Linked DNA regions of Homo sapiens: regions 2, 3 and 4 are each linked to region 1. Evidence: promoter capture Hi-C in 16 types of primary human blood cells and fetal thymus (Javierre and others, 2016). All regions are on one chromosome and are shown on one strand. The core of a region is centred on a gene start or on the middle of the fragment in contact, and the rest is flanking DNA. Distances in the headings are between cores, read along the strand shown.

Region 1 (3,330 bases), core at 188-2,687:
AGTACAAACGAAACTCAGAAAGATCACTCGACATGTAAAAGGCTTGCAAACAACTTCAAAGTTTATCCCAGCCACTAACCAATACTATCCCCACTTAAGAACTCCTGTAACATAAAAACGGATACGCACAAATTCCTGCAGTCAAATACATTTAATACACAAATAATGTTAGCTTTAACTTTTAAACTGAACGACAGATAGTGTAAATAAGGACTCTATCCATACTAAAGACAACAGAAGCACATGAATGATTTAAAGAAAAAAATCTTTCGATTTTACAGGCACAAGGTAGATAACATTCTTAGGACTCCTACAATTCGGTTTTCAGGTTTCTCTGTATGTACATACTTCACTAGGATTTAAAACACACACAACTAAGTTAAAGCTGGGCCCAACCACCAAGAATCCCAAGAGATAATCACACCAAAGGGACGCCCACCAATTATCTCCTTTCTATTGCCTATGTAGGGCTGCAAGCTGCCTCCTCCAGTCGCACGAAAACAGGACATCTAGTTATCTCATATACAATTAAGTGCAAAAATGACTGACCTGGCGTCGACAAATATAAAACTTAGGAAAGGACTATTTTTAAGAAAACTAAGGGCAAATCAAAGGACAGGTAATATAGTTAGTAGAACTGTGGGTGGTCAGTAGTTTCGGGAGGAGAGTTTACCCAGTACTTAGTTTGCTGACCAAGCGAGCTCACGGCGGAGAAAGAGCTAGTCACGGCCTCTCTTCCCTCGGGCACACGGAGGTCACGAAGGGACACAGGGCCTCAGCGCTTCCACGCCCTTGAGGGAAGGCCAAGGATCTGACACCCGCCTATGGTGGAAAAGGCCGATACCCCAGGGCAAGCAACTGGGCGCCGTCCTACGGTGCAGCGGGCTGGACTCGTCCTTCCCTGTCCTCCAAGCCGGGTCCAGGCCTCAAAGGCTGGGCGGCCCACAAGTAGACCACACGACTGTATTGGGCAGGGTCTGATCTCACCTTCCACGGCGGCGGCTGCCAGGTTGCGAGGGCGGCGGGGCTGGCCCGTGGGCCCTGGGGAGCTGCTGCGGAGGTCCCCGAGACCATCGTGCACCAGCTGCAGATGTGGCGTGTTGAAGGGGTTCGCCCGCGCCAGGTGCGCCACGGACGAGAACATCTTTCTAGGGGAGGAGGGAGCGACGGTTAGAGGACAGGCAAGGCGCCGGTTAACGTTACCGGCGCCCTGGAACCCCAACCGGGGCCTTTTCCTTCCCGTCTCCACGCCCTTGAAGAGGTCACGGCGGCCTTCGAAAGAGGCTGCTCCCGGCTGGGCCCACCGCCAAAGCAGCGGCCCCACAGGAGCTCTGGGCTCCGCTCCCCACACCCGCCACAGGAGAAGGCCCGGCCACACTCACTCCCTAAGATGGCGATCACACAACCACTCCCTTGGAAAGGTTGCGGCTCACAGAGGCCGGACGTCCTCCGGGTCCTAAGATGTGTGCCCTTCGCGCGTCGTCGGCGTGACGCACACAGCGCGCCACTGCAAGTACGCGTCGCCCATTGGTGGAGAAGAGCGCCGAGCCCGTAGCGTCATCGCGTTCTCCTAGCAACCTTATTCCCGCCCCTGCCCGCCCCAGCTCTTCCGCCCGGCTTGTGCGCGGGAGGATTCGTTCTGCGCAGGCGCGCGTTCCGGGTCTATATTTTTTGAGAGGGGTCGGGCTCGAGCTCTTACCCTGCTCGCTTTGTCCCTTCACCTTCAGGTGTCTCTCCTTGACCACGGGCTTCAGTTCGCTTCACTTAAGTGAATCACAGTATCTAGTAGTCACTTAAAAAACAAAACAAAACGCGAATGCTTGATAATATATTTAGGTGTTGGAGTTACAACATCACTGCAGTACTTTGTGTCACAACTTCTGCCATTACAGTACTTTTTAAAATAAGTTCCATCCATTGACATTAAACATAGGTATGTCTGTATTTTTCATCAGACTCCTGGAGAATATTTTAAAAAGAAATGTGCAGCAAGAAGTCTTACGACAGCTTGCCGCGTTATCACAGTAATCTACAGAACACGTTGAAACATTGAACTCCTGAGATGTTACAGCGATGAACTACTGAAAGTGACTGATAGCAGATTGTGCGTGTGTGTGGTTAATACATTTAGGAAGCTTTCATTAGATTCAGCTCAACAGGGAGGGGCGTAGTTTAGTTGGGGAGAGTTTAATAGGGATTCAACCTGTTAGACTTCTGACTCTTATATTTTCCAAGCTCTTGACAAAGTAACCTTGGGAATTTACTTCATCTCTGTGTACCTGTTCCCTAGATGTAAGATAGGGGTGGGACTGGCCTCATAGGTTCACACTGGTACAGTCACACATGGCCTTACACTTCATTTAATGCTCTGCTGTCATTTTGATTTTTTTTTTTTTTCTTTTGAGATGGAGTCTTGCTCTGTCGCCCAGGCTGGAGTGCAGTGGGGCGATCTCAGCTCACCGCAACCTCCGCCTCCCGGGTTCAAGCGATTCTCCTGTCTCAGCCCCCGGAGTAGCTGGGACTACAGGCGTGCACAACCACGCCCGGCTAAGTTTTCTATTTTTAGTAGAGACAGAGTTTCGTCACGTTGGCCAGTCTGGTCTCGAACTCCTGAGCTCAGGTGATCCGCCCACCTCGGCCTCCCAATGTGCTGGGATTACAGGCCTGAGCCACCATGCCCGGCTTGAAATTCTTAATACATGTATGAACAAGGGGCCACGCTTTTTTTAGTTTGCACTGGACCCTGCAAATCAGGTGTCTGGTTCTGGATGGGAGTAATACTTACCTTGCAGAGTCTATGAGAACTCAATGAGATAATGTCTAAAAGTCTACAGAAGATGTTACCTAAAAAAAGTTAGCATTGGCCGGGCGAGGTGGCTCACGCCTGTAATCCCAGCACTTTGGGAGGCCGAGGCGGGCAGATCACGGGGTCAGGAGATCGAGACCATCCTGGCTAACACGGTGAAACCCCGTCTCTACTAAAAATACAAAAAATTAGCCGGGCGAGGTGGCGGGCGCCTGTAGTCCCAGCTACTGAGGAGACTGAGGCAGGAGAATGGCGTGAACCCAGGAGGCAGAGCTTGCAGTGAGCCGAGATCATGCCACTGCACTCCAGCCTGGGCGACAGAGCAAGACTCCGTCTCAAAAAAAAAAAAAAACAAAAAAACAAAAGTTAGCATTGAGGCTGCGGCATCACGGCACTCTCTAAGCAACCCTATCCCAGACCCAGCCCTTCTGGCCCAACTAAAGTCCTACAGTCCCAGGAAGAATTCCAGAGTGGAGGGCACAGGAAGGGAAGTAGTGACAGATAAAGTTAAAAAAGTACACTAG
Region 2 (3,330 bases), core at 341-2,840, about 77 Mb after region 1:
ACATAAAAATGTGTGATTTCAAATGCCATTATTTAGGGTTATAAATATCTAGAAAAACAACATCAAAGACCCTTGGCACTAAATCTCCAGCTCAGAATATCTCAGAACACAACAAAACCCAACAACAAAAACTAGTATTTATACCACAAAGCTCTCTAAACCACGAAACCTGTGTATTACTCCAAGCTTGTCGATGATACTAAGACTTCCCATTTTTTATTCATCTCAAAGATCAGCTTTGGCTTTTAACCTTCATTACTAAAACCCCCACATAACTGGGAAAGCCAATGATTTTCTTACTTCTTAAGGTGCTTAAGTTTTCTGCTGCAAGATACATCTGCCAAAACAAACTCTTCTTCACTCTTTTCTCTCTTAGCCACTATGATCTTTACTCCTAGTTCTTCTCCCACCTCTTTTCCTAGTCTCTTCTAGTGTTTTCTTCTTTTTCTCCACCTACCCTAAAATGTCAAAAGTACTCCAAGATTCCAGTCTTATCACTGTATATTCTGTACTGTATTAACCGCCTCTTGACTGGCTCCCCTGACTTCAGTTTTTCTCTTTAATACCTACTTTATCCTGATATCAGAACAACCTTCCTAAAACATCTACCCTGTTGTACCACCTCTGGCTTAAAAACCTCTGTGCCCCACTCCCCCGACCTTCTCCAAACACTGCTCCCCCAGCCCAAATTTGGTTACAGGATAAGGTATACTTTTCTCAACAAGTCATCAAAGAAAGTTTGTAACCTGGCTCCAGGCTTCATTTTCAGTTTCATTACCAACCATTTCCTTCAACTGATCACATGCTCCTGTTCTATAAGAGTATTCATTCTTTTCAGAACAAGCTGTGTGTTTTTATGGCCCTGTCTGTTCCTTCTGTTAACTGTCGTTCCCTTTCTCGTTTATAGGATAAATTCTTACCCATTCTTCAAAGCCCAGTTTATCAGTTAACATTTCTCACCTCTCCTTGAATTTACTAATTTTTTAATCATGCTTCCACAATATTCTGCATACACATTTATAATGGCATTATGACTATATCCTATTGGTATTTTTAGAGTCTACTTTCCATAATAGAAATGAGAGATTTTCTAAAGCAGATTTGGTACTTAATTTATTTTTATGTCTCCTGTGGGTAATACAGTGCCTGGCAGACAGAAGACAAAGGATATGCATTTCTGGAATAAATAATTAAGCTCAACCCTACTTAAAGTTATTTTCTTTTCTGTTTTTTTTTTTTTTTTTTTTTTTTTTTTGAGACAGAGTCTCGCTCTATTGCCTAGGCTGGAGTGCAATGGTGTGATCGGCTCACTGCAACTTCCGCCTCCCAGGTTCAAACAATTCGCCTGCCTCAGCCTCCCGAGTAGCTAGGATTACAGGCGCCTGCCAGCATGGCCAGCTAATTTTTGAATTTTTAGTAGAGACGGGGTTTCATCATGCTGGCCAGGCTGGTCTTGACCTCCTGACCTCAGGTGATCCGCCCACCTCGGCCTCCCAAAGTGCTGGGATTACAGGTGTGAGCCACCGCACCTGGCCAAAGGTATTTTCATATAGATATATACACATACTATTGTTTATCTGCTAACTGGCATTTACAAAATATTACCTGCTCAAAATCTCCCATAGTAGTGTATTTGGTAAACAATCTTCTAATACGTATATGTGCTAAATAAATTTCCATCAAGTAGCAGTAGCTATGAAGTATAAGATTCTACACACCAAAATGCTGGATCTATCTATCTATCTATCTATCTATCTATCTACCTACCTACCTACCGATTGATCGATCGACCGACCTACCTACCACTATTTAGTTGATACAAATATCCAACATAAAGATGGTGCCTTAAAATGCCAATAAAATAAACTTTATTGTGCTGACAAAACAAGATAATTTATACCATTAGGCAATCATTCACATGTGATAAAACATTTTTATAGTTGCTTCATCTAAATCTATAAGATTCAACCTAAATAAAATTCCATTTAAGGAAATGATCATCATCTTACTCCAACTGATGCAAATATCTGAGTTTTTGTACTAACTATCTGACACACTGATTTACTGAAAGAGACAATAATATGCCTTACCTGAACAAGAGAAAAAATCCATAAATTTCGAAGATCATGCCTATCAAAGGCCAACCAATAAGGACTACAAATACACCACCCAGAAAAAAACCTGTAGCTTTCATTTTATGTTTTTGGAAGAAGAATCTGAATGTTCTTTCTAAACCAATTACAAAAGCCAAGCCGGCTACAAATAAAACCTAAAAGAGAAAGAAAATACAACACGGAAAAGGTAATTAAACACAATGCATAAATTTTAAACGTAAAGTCAAAGCTAAATATAAAAAAAGAAGCACATTTGTTTGGCTTTTAATGTGGGCAACTGGCCAGACAGAACTGTAATGTACAACCAAGCAGCAGAACCAAGGAGTGGGTTATGCATTTTAAAGTTGTAGCTTTGTTCCACTTGTCTCATTCCTCTTCTATCTTGATTAAATGGAGAAAAAGAGAAACAAAGAAAGATTAGACGTTACCAAGGGGCATCTGTGTCTGCAGTAGTTTTCCTAGTTTTAGCTGGATGAGGAAGGCTTAGTCAAGCAGATGAGTTGGCAAGGCATAAAGAGGAAAGCTGCCCATAAATATGTCACCCAAGGGTATTCCTCTTGGTTCTGAAATATTCATCATAGGCTACAGGAGTTTCTATGGATGGGAGAAATATTGACATGGCTAAGTTGATAGCAGAAGAAACAACGTGAAGCCAAGAAGATTCTAGTTTTATAAATTCTAGAATATCTGGTGGCAGCAGAAATAAAAATACAACCATGTGTTTTCAAATATTTTGAATGTATTCTGTGGACAAGAAATGGTGATGGATTAAGAGCTTGCTTTCCCCAGGTTTTCTTTCCAAATACTTGCCCTCCCCATTAACATTCTTTAGTGAAAAATATTTCGCACAAATACATATTAAGCCTAATGGTTAAGCTTCATATTCTAGGATACTAATGCTATTATCATTTATTAAGACATCAATTTTGAACAATTTTGCTATTCTTTATCTTTTCCCATTTCCAGTTAAAAGCCCAAATATATATGTGTGTGTGTATATATATATATACACACACACACACATACAGTGTCTTCACTACCTTAGAAGGGTTATTATTTATTTCTGGATCATAACCTCCACACATGAATAGCATAGTACACATTCCAAATAAACAACATAGATCCCTTTCTAAGCAAGTCAACCATTAACATAGAAATATATATTTTTAAAAAGGTTAAAAAAATCTATCTTATGCAGCTGAATCAAATGTGAAGT
Region 3 (3,330 bases), core at 396-2,895, about 74 Mb after region 1:
TTGAATCTATTGGGCCGTGAAGATAAACTGGGAAGACAACAATAGCAAGTTCATAATATCAAGAACGTGCACTTTGGGGTAAGTTATTAAAGTTGACTCTTCTAAGAAAATACTGCAAGAAAATCACAGTGAGGAAGGGGAACAAATTCTTAGTAGTTTATAAAACTCAGGTATAATATTGATTTAATCAAAAGGCAAAACTGGAGCAAAAGAATAGTCCTGGGCACAGTGTCTAAAGCAGACACACCTTAAACCAACTTTGGAATGCCTTATGATTCATGTCTCAACATGAACAGTTCTAATCACAAGGGAACCTTCTCCAATGCCCTCTGAGCAGTAGTAAAATAACACACAGACTGTGTAATTTAAAGACTGCCTTACTAGCTTAACAGAGTGAATCAGAATATTGAAAACTGGCAAATTCAATAAAGGTTTAAAAATTATGACAATAATATGTTGAATAACCACTGCTATTTTAATGTTTTATTTATTTATTTGTTTGTAATTTTTGTAGAGACAGGGTTTCACCATGTTGTCCAGGCTGGTCTCAAACTCCTGGGCTCAAGCAATCTGCCCACCTCGGCCTCCCAAAATGCTGGGATTACAGGGGTGAGCCACTGTGTCCGGCAAACCATTGCTATTTTAAAACTAGACTATTTCTTAAACTCCTAAATAGCTTTCTCAGATAATAGTAGAAAGGGTACAATAAATCCAAAACAAACACAAGTCTGAAATTTTTCATCTCTAGCCTACCTTAAGCTTATATATTAAATATATAATTATTTATAATTATATAACAATTAACAAATAAACAATGTTTATTTCTCAAACCAAGTAACTTTCTATAAAAAGAATATTTATACTGCTAGAACAAGAAACTGGCTGAACAAAAGCAATTGTCTGATAAATGGCTAAATAAGTAAGGTTTATTTTTACCATATTAGGTTTCTAGAATGAAACAATTTTATAGCTAATCTGACATCTGTAATGTGACAACTGTCTTCTCACATAAATCTCTGGTAACTGTTTATATACTTTTGGGTAATACAGAAAAATGACAAATATTCCAATTTTTAAAATGCAAAATATGTATGTAGATGTATGTAGAGAATGCATTAAAACTTTAAAAGAATTTTCACACATTTGATATTTTGATATACACTGAATTCATAATTATTTTGCCCAACCCCCTAAAATTTCCAAAGAAAATAGACGAGCAAGGCCTTTTCTACCATATGAGAGGAAAAAAACTAGCTAATAAAATCAGAGTATAATATATAACAACTTGCAAGTTCAAATATACCATGCATACTAGATTTTTCTCCTTGTTTACTTTTAGAAATTTTGAGAAGTTTTAATTAATTTTAAAAGAAAAAAACAGCCACAGACAAAACCAGCTTATAATAAAAAGGCAAAAAGGGAAGTTAATGGTTAAACCCATGCATGCACCTAGCCACTCAGCAAACCTCTCTGAAAGCCCCACAATATTGCCTTCTCAAACCATTTCATTGTCATAAACTCAGGAATAATATCCTAGCTGTAATCTAGAAAAATGTCTGTAGTCCTATGCCCCGCCTGAGGGTGGACAAAAACTGGGTCATAAATGAATATTTGCTACTCACTCTTCAGTTTCCTTGTCTTCTGCTGAAGTGCCTGGCAAGTGTTCGATAATTCAGTATTTATAGTTTGAAGGTTCCGTTGTTCCGAAATTGCTTCCTCTAATTTATGCAGTAAAGACGTAGCTTTTTCACTGGCAGTGTGGGCTTCTCGATCTCGATCCTTACCCTGGACATGGATAGTTAGTGCTGGATTGTAGCAGTGTGGCCAGGAAAGAAAGCAATGGAGTGCTCACTCTTATGATGCAGGCAAAACTGAAAATGTGTTTTTCTTCTCAGGGAAGTGATAAGCCTCTCCTGAACTTCTGCAATTCTGTGTTTGCATGGGCTTGGTATGCCTGAGCTATTTCTACAGCGGTTAAAGTCCTGATATGTCAAGTTGCCTCTTTCTGCAGAGTCGCCTCTTTCATCAGCAGGCTGTTGATACCGCCTCTCTTACAACTCCCCCTTTACTTCCTCTGCTCACTGTTAGTCGCTAGGGACTGAACTTGCAGTTCCTCTTTGCTTTTTTTTTTTGTTTGTTGTTGTTGTTCCTCCTCCATTTTTATTTCATGGTTTGCAGGGCATCTGAGGAGATGTCCCCTGAATCTAATGTAGCCATGAGCCACCCTACCTGCTCCTCCACATCCTCCAGCCGTTGGCTGGTTTCTTGGAGCCTCTTCCTAAGGATGCCTTCCTGGTTGACAGCATCTTCCTGTAGTTGTTTAATGGCTTCTAGTTGTTTCTGACTGGAGTTAAAAAAAAAAAAAAAAAAAAAAGTCCAAACCGCAAGCTGTCAGTGACATTTCAACTAAGAGTCACCCTGTGAAATTATGACAAACTCAAACTTAACACCACTTCCTTAGAGATCAGAGGAAAAAGTGAAAGTATTTACATATAAATGCTTCACAAATATAAAATCTTAAGCAAAGCTTATTGGTCGCTTAGCCTGACACCCTCACTTTACAGATAAGGACTTCTAGTTTCATCTTTTACACTGGTGTGTTCAGTTCCCACCAGCTGCATTCATAGCACTTAGCATCAGTTGCCAGTTGCCAGTTACTCAGAAGATGGCTCTACAATGAGGTCAGGGTGACAGGTGCAACATTTACACATCACAGCTAGCTTTTACAGAAAAAGAAAGGAATGGGGTAAAGGTAGGGGGAGGGAAAAGAAAAGGAAAGAGAGCTTTGTTTCATGACCTTAGCCTTTCTCCTTAAGGGTTGTCAATCATAGTATAAACACGTGCCACGAGCACAGGAAGGACCGCCCCCAGGCACAGATGAAAGCTGGCGGTTGATATTTCTACTTTAGTCCTCTTTTTGCTGAAGCTTTTCTCCCCATCACCCTTCCCCACCACAGATCTCATGGTGCCATTACGTTACACCTCATTTGGATCCAATTCTAATCTCTAAAACATGTAAAAATGCACTTACTCTCTGTTAGCAGATGAGATTATTTAATGTGTGTTACATGCCAGTACCTCAATGATTATCTGGAAACAATCTGACTTGAATATGGACCTTAACTCAAAGTGGTGATAAATGTCGGGAGTTGCAAAACAGCAAGGAAGACATTGTCAGCCGTAGGCCTTGTGCATGCCTCTCAAACGTTAACATTTAGTCAGAATGCCACTGCACACTGGCACAAATCCAGCCCTGGTTACACGAAGGACCACATGAGAGGCAAGAATGGTCTCACAGAATGCTTACCATACTGGTAAACAAGCAAACAA
Region 4 (3,330 bases), core at 273-2,772, about 32 Mb before region 1:
GCACAACTTAGTACAAACAATTTAACAAGAAATCAGCTAGTCTTGTATAACACTTGTTAAGATCTCCTATCTCCTCTGGTCTAGTATCTGGTGTTTATTGTTTTCTAATACAGTAAAAACATTCATTGATCACCACACCAAAATACATACATGAACCTAAGTTTCCAAATACTGAAACTGCTGTTAACAGCCTATTATTGTTTTAAATATGACTTATAAGTCCCAGTGTAAGTCATAGTTTTTTCTAAAGCATGCCTAGCATGACACAGCATGCAAATGACACAACTTTAATAAAATTTTCTCTGCCACCAAAATGGTGGTCAACTCCCCGAAGTCCACTTGTCTTTTTTTAACCCAAAAATGACACTATTTGTTGGAACAGACCTGATTTTCTATAACCTTGAAGACTGAAGTACACAAAACCTCTCAAAAACCGTTCAGCAAGTTACAAATGCCTACCTTGGATATAATAGCCATCTCTCAGTCCACCGAATTTCTCCTGGCCGGCTGTGTCCCATACATTGAACTTAATAGGTCCTCTGTTGGTGTGGAACACTAGGGGATGAACCTCAACACCCAAGGTGGCTGAAACGGAAACGATGCGATTGAGTGGATGAACTTACCCATTTCTCACATATTTCCACAAGCAAGGTTTTCCAGCACATACCTACATACTTCTTCTCAAATTCACCAGTCAAATGACGTTTCACGAAGGTCGTTTTTCCAGTACCACCATCACCAACCAATACAAGCTGTTGAAAAACACATTTTGGAAGTAAACCCTAAACACTTCACCTCTCAAGATCCCAGAGTCACGGAACTTTAACCACCACAGGCTCACTTAAAACAAAGAATGTGGATGCGGGGCCCCATTACAGCCATCGTGGCCCCAGGAGGAGGGACCCGCGAGTCGCACGCGGTCGGGCTCGGCCGCCTCCCGCCCCGCAGGGTTACCTACTTTGAACTGGACCTGGGGCTCTCCCTGCGCAGCCATCGCGGCGTTCCTGCGGAGGCAGAGGACGGAGGCGAGCGCTCGCGCGGCCCCGCAGCCCATGGCGGCCCCGCTCCCGCGCCCCCAGCGCCCCACGTGCCCGCCCCACAAAGGCCTCCCGCCCGCGGCGCCATGGCGGCCAGGCCTGGGAGCGGGAAGGCGGCGGGCGGGGCCGGCATCCGGGGCGGCGGGGCCCGGGGAACGGCGGCCGGAGGTGTAGGGATGGGAACGGGACTGGGACCGGGACGGGGATGAGAGCGGAGGATGAAACGGGGGTTCGCGGGGGCTAGCGCCGACCCCACGCCCGTCTCCTGCCCCGGCCCGGCCGGGCCCGCACCACCCACCTACTCAGCCGCCCGCTGCCCCTGGGTCCGCCACCCGCCCCGGCCCTGGCCCCGGCTCCGACCCCTATCCCGCCGCCGCCACCCCTGTCCCCGCCCGGCCGTGCCGGGCCCGCCGGGTCGCGATACCTTCCAGAAGCGTCTCCGCGCCCGTCCGACTGAGGCTGGAAAGATGGCGGAAGCGCAATTCAAACGCCGGAGACGCAGCCGACGCCGGCGCGAGAGCAGGGGCGGGGCCGGCGCGGGGCGGGGTTGCAAGGGGCGGGGCAACGGCGCGGCGCCCGCCCACGTGGCCCGCGCGTGCGCGCACGCACGCAACGCGGTTCGGTCGGCCGCTCGGGCGGTCGCTGCGCTTAGGGTGGGGCGGGAGGCGCGGTGGACCGCGTGGGAGGGCGAGCCGGGAGCGCGTACGCAAGCCGGCCGGTGGGGACCGCGTGCGCCGACGCCCCGGGCGGGCTCCCGGGCGCGCATGCGCTGAAAGCGAGGCGGCGCGCCCCTGAGCGGGAGACGTTGGGCGCGGCCCGACGGTCGCGGCTCTCCTGCCTCCCGGGTGGGAGGCGGTACTCGCTCGGGCAGACGTGGTCAGGCACGCGGCTTCCAGGCGCTGGCCAGCCTGTCCTTGTCTGTGCCCCGTGGGGTGGGGGTTCTTGAGGTCCTGGGGCTTAGGGTGGCTCGCGTGCGCGCAGGACGGGTGGGTGACAGAACGAATGAATGAATGAATGGGGTCTAGGCCCGTCCTCCAGAGGCAGCCCGCTGTTCTGTCTCTCCAGATCGTAGCCTTCACGCCCCCAGGACCAGGGCCAGTTGGAGAGCGAGGAACCAGAGAGGGATGCACCCACCCAGAAAAACGGCTACTTATTTTTTTTAAGAGACGGAGTCTCGCTACGTTGCCCAGGCTGGTCTCGAACTCTCAGGCTCGGGCGATCCTCCCGCCTCAGCCTCCCGAGTAGCTGGGACTACAGGCGCGCACCACATCAGGGGTAATTTTTTAAAAATTTTTTTGAGAGACAGAATCTAACTATGTCTCCCAGGCTGGCCTCAGGGGATCCACCCGCCTCGGCCTCCCAAAGCGTCCGGCTTCTCAAAGCGTTTCATAGGTTGGCAGCTTTGGCCGCTGCATGCTACAGACAAAATGATGAAATACTGTTTGCAGTCTGGACGCGTCTACCAGCCCTAGTTACCAACGGGGACGGAATGAGTAAGTGCTCAGCTTCCCAGCCCCCTGTTGGCCTGAAGCTGTAAGAGCCCAAACAAGCTTGAGCTAGAGGGACCCGACTTCCTGGGCGCCCCTGCCGACATGCAGACAGATAAAGGCCCAAATCAGCGCAGTCAAGCGCCTCAGAAGAGTCCACCATGGGGAGAGAGCCGCAGTGACCGAAGAGTCCTCCCTGCAGTCCTGAGCACACTTGCAGGCGAGTCCGCTAGGAACCCCAGTGACGCAAATTAGGCACAAAGCAGGCGACAACCGGCCTGCTGGGAACGCAAGTCCGAGCTCCCCCAGAACCCTCAGGGGAACCCCAAGCACCTCTCAGACGCTGCTGGCGGGAGAGCAGAATCTAACAGTAAAACGGGAATGCCCATTGCTTGTGACCCCGGATTTCCATTTCTAGGGAGAGGCCCCAGAGTTAAACTCATGCCTCACGCATGTGCACAACATTTAATACTGTATAACATTTAAAAGGAATGACGGTCATCTGTTTCAACAGGGTTAGATAGATGTCAAAAGGATAGTGTTGAGAAAAGAAGAAAGAGGTGATAACAGCTTTATAAAGTCTAGGCCACCTGTAATCCCAGCACTTTGGGAGTCCGAGGTAGGAGGATCCCTTAAACCCAGGAGTTACAGGCTGCAATGGGCAATGATCTCACCATTGCACTCCAGCCTGGGAGACAGAGCAAGACCCTGTTTTCAAAAATTAATACATAAAACCTAACACTATATGTAACTTTATCTAGAGGGATTATATATATAGTATAATGTCATTTATGTATATTTTTTAC

The links. The method cuts DNA at HindIII sites, captures the fragments that hold promoters and counts their contacts. A CHiCAGO score of 5 or more calls a contact.
Region 2: a fragment that was not itself captured here is called in contact with the fragment with the promoter of SLC25A3 in region 1 in 1 of 17 cell types (total B cells); the score reaches 5.1 in total B cells.
Region 3: a fragment that was not itself captured here is called in contact with the fragment with the promoter of SLC25A3 in region 1 in 1 of 17 cell types (total CD8 T cells); the score reaches 8.2 in total CD8 T cells.
Region 4: a contact is called between the fragment with the promoter of RAN here and the fragment with the promoter of SLC25A3 in region 1, in 1 of 17 cell types (naive CD8 T cells). The highest score is 6.8, in naive CD8 T cells.

What each region holds. Positions count from the first base shown.
Region 1 is chr12:98,591,793-98,595,122 of GRCh38, reverse strand. It overlaps SLC25A3 (solute carrier family 25 member 3), which reads right to left and starts at 1,437. Exons shown (of 8, transcript NM_002635.4): 1 at 1,383-1,437; 2 at 988-1,148. The coding sequence starts at 1,144. RefSeq lists enhancers at 398-1,022, 1,346-1,445, 1,023-1,647, 1,696-1,915. The HindIII fragment of the contact is 3,126 bases long and covers 1-2,137 here.
Region 2 is chr12:21,507,322-21,510,651 of GRCh38, reverse strand. GOLT1B (golgi transport 1B) reads right to left here. Exons shown (of 5, transcript NM_016072.5): 3 at 2,091-2,269. Among named protein-coding and RNA genes, the nearest start is that of GOLT1B, 7.2 kb to the right of the region's middle. The HindIII fragment of the contact is 2,804 bases long and covers 189-2,992 here.
Region 3 is chr12:25,051,249-25,054,578 of GRCh38, reverse strand. IRAG2 (inositol 1,4,5-triphosphate receptor associated 2) reads right to left here and starts at 1,873. Exons shown (of 22, transcript NM_001366544.2): 1 at 1,623-1,873. RefSeq lists enhancers at 1,999-2,368, 2,409-2,518. The HindIII fragment of the contact is 1,768 bases long and covers 762-2,529 here.
Region 4 is chr12:130,870,258-130,873,587 of GRCh38, reverse strand. It overlaps RAN (RAN, member RAS oncogene family), which reads right to left and starts at 1,522. Exons shown (of 7, transcript NM_006325.5): 1 at 1,462-1,522; 2 at 959-1,004; 3 at 668-752; 4 at 460-585. The coding sequence starts at 994. RefSeq lists silencers at 1,008-1,217, 1,268-1,407, 1,478-1,937 and enhancers at 959-1,720, 2,218-2,297, 1,721-2,482. The HindIII fragment of the contact is 6,850 bases long and covers 1-2,589 here.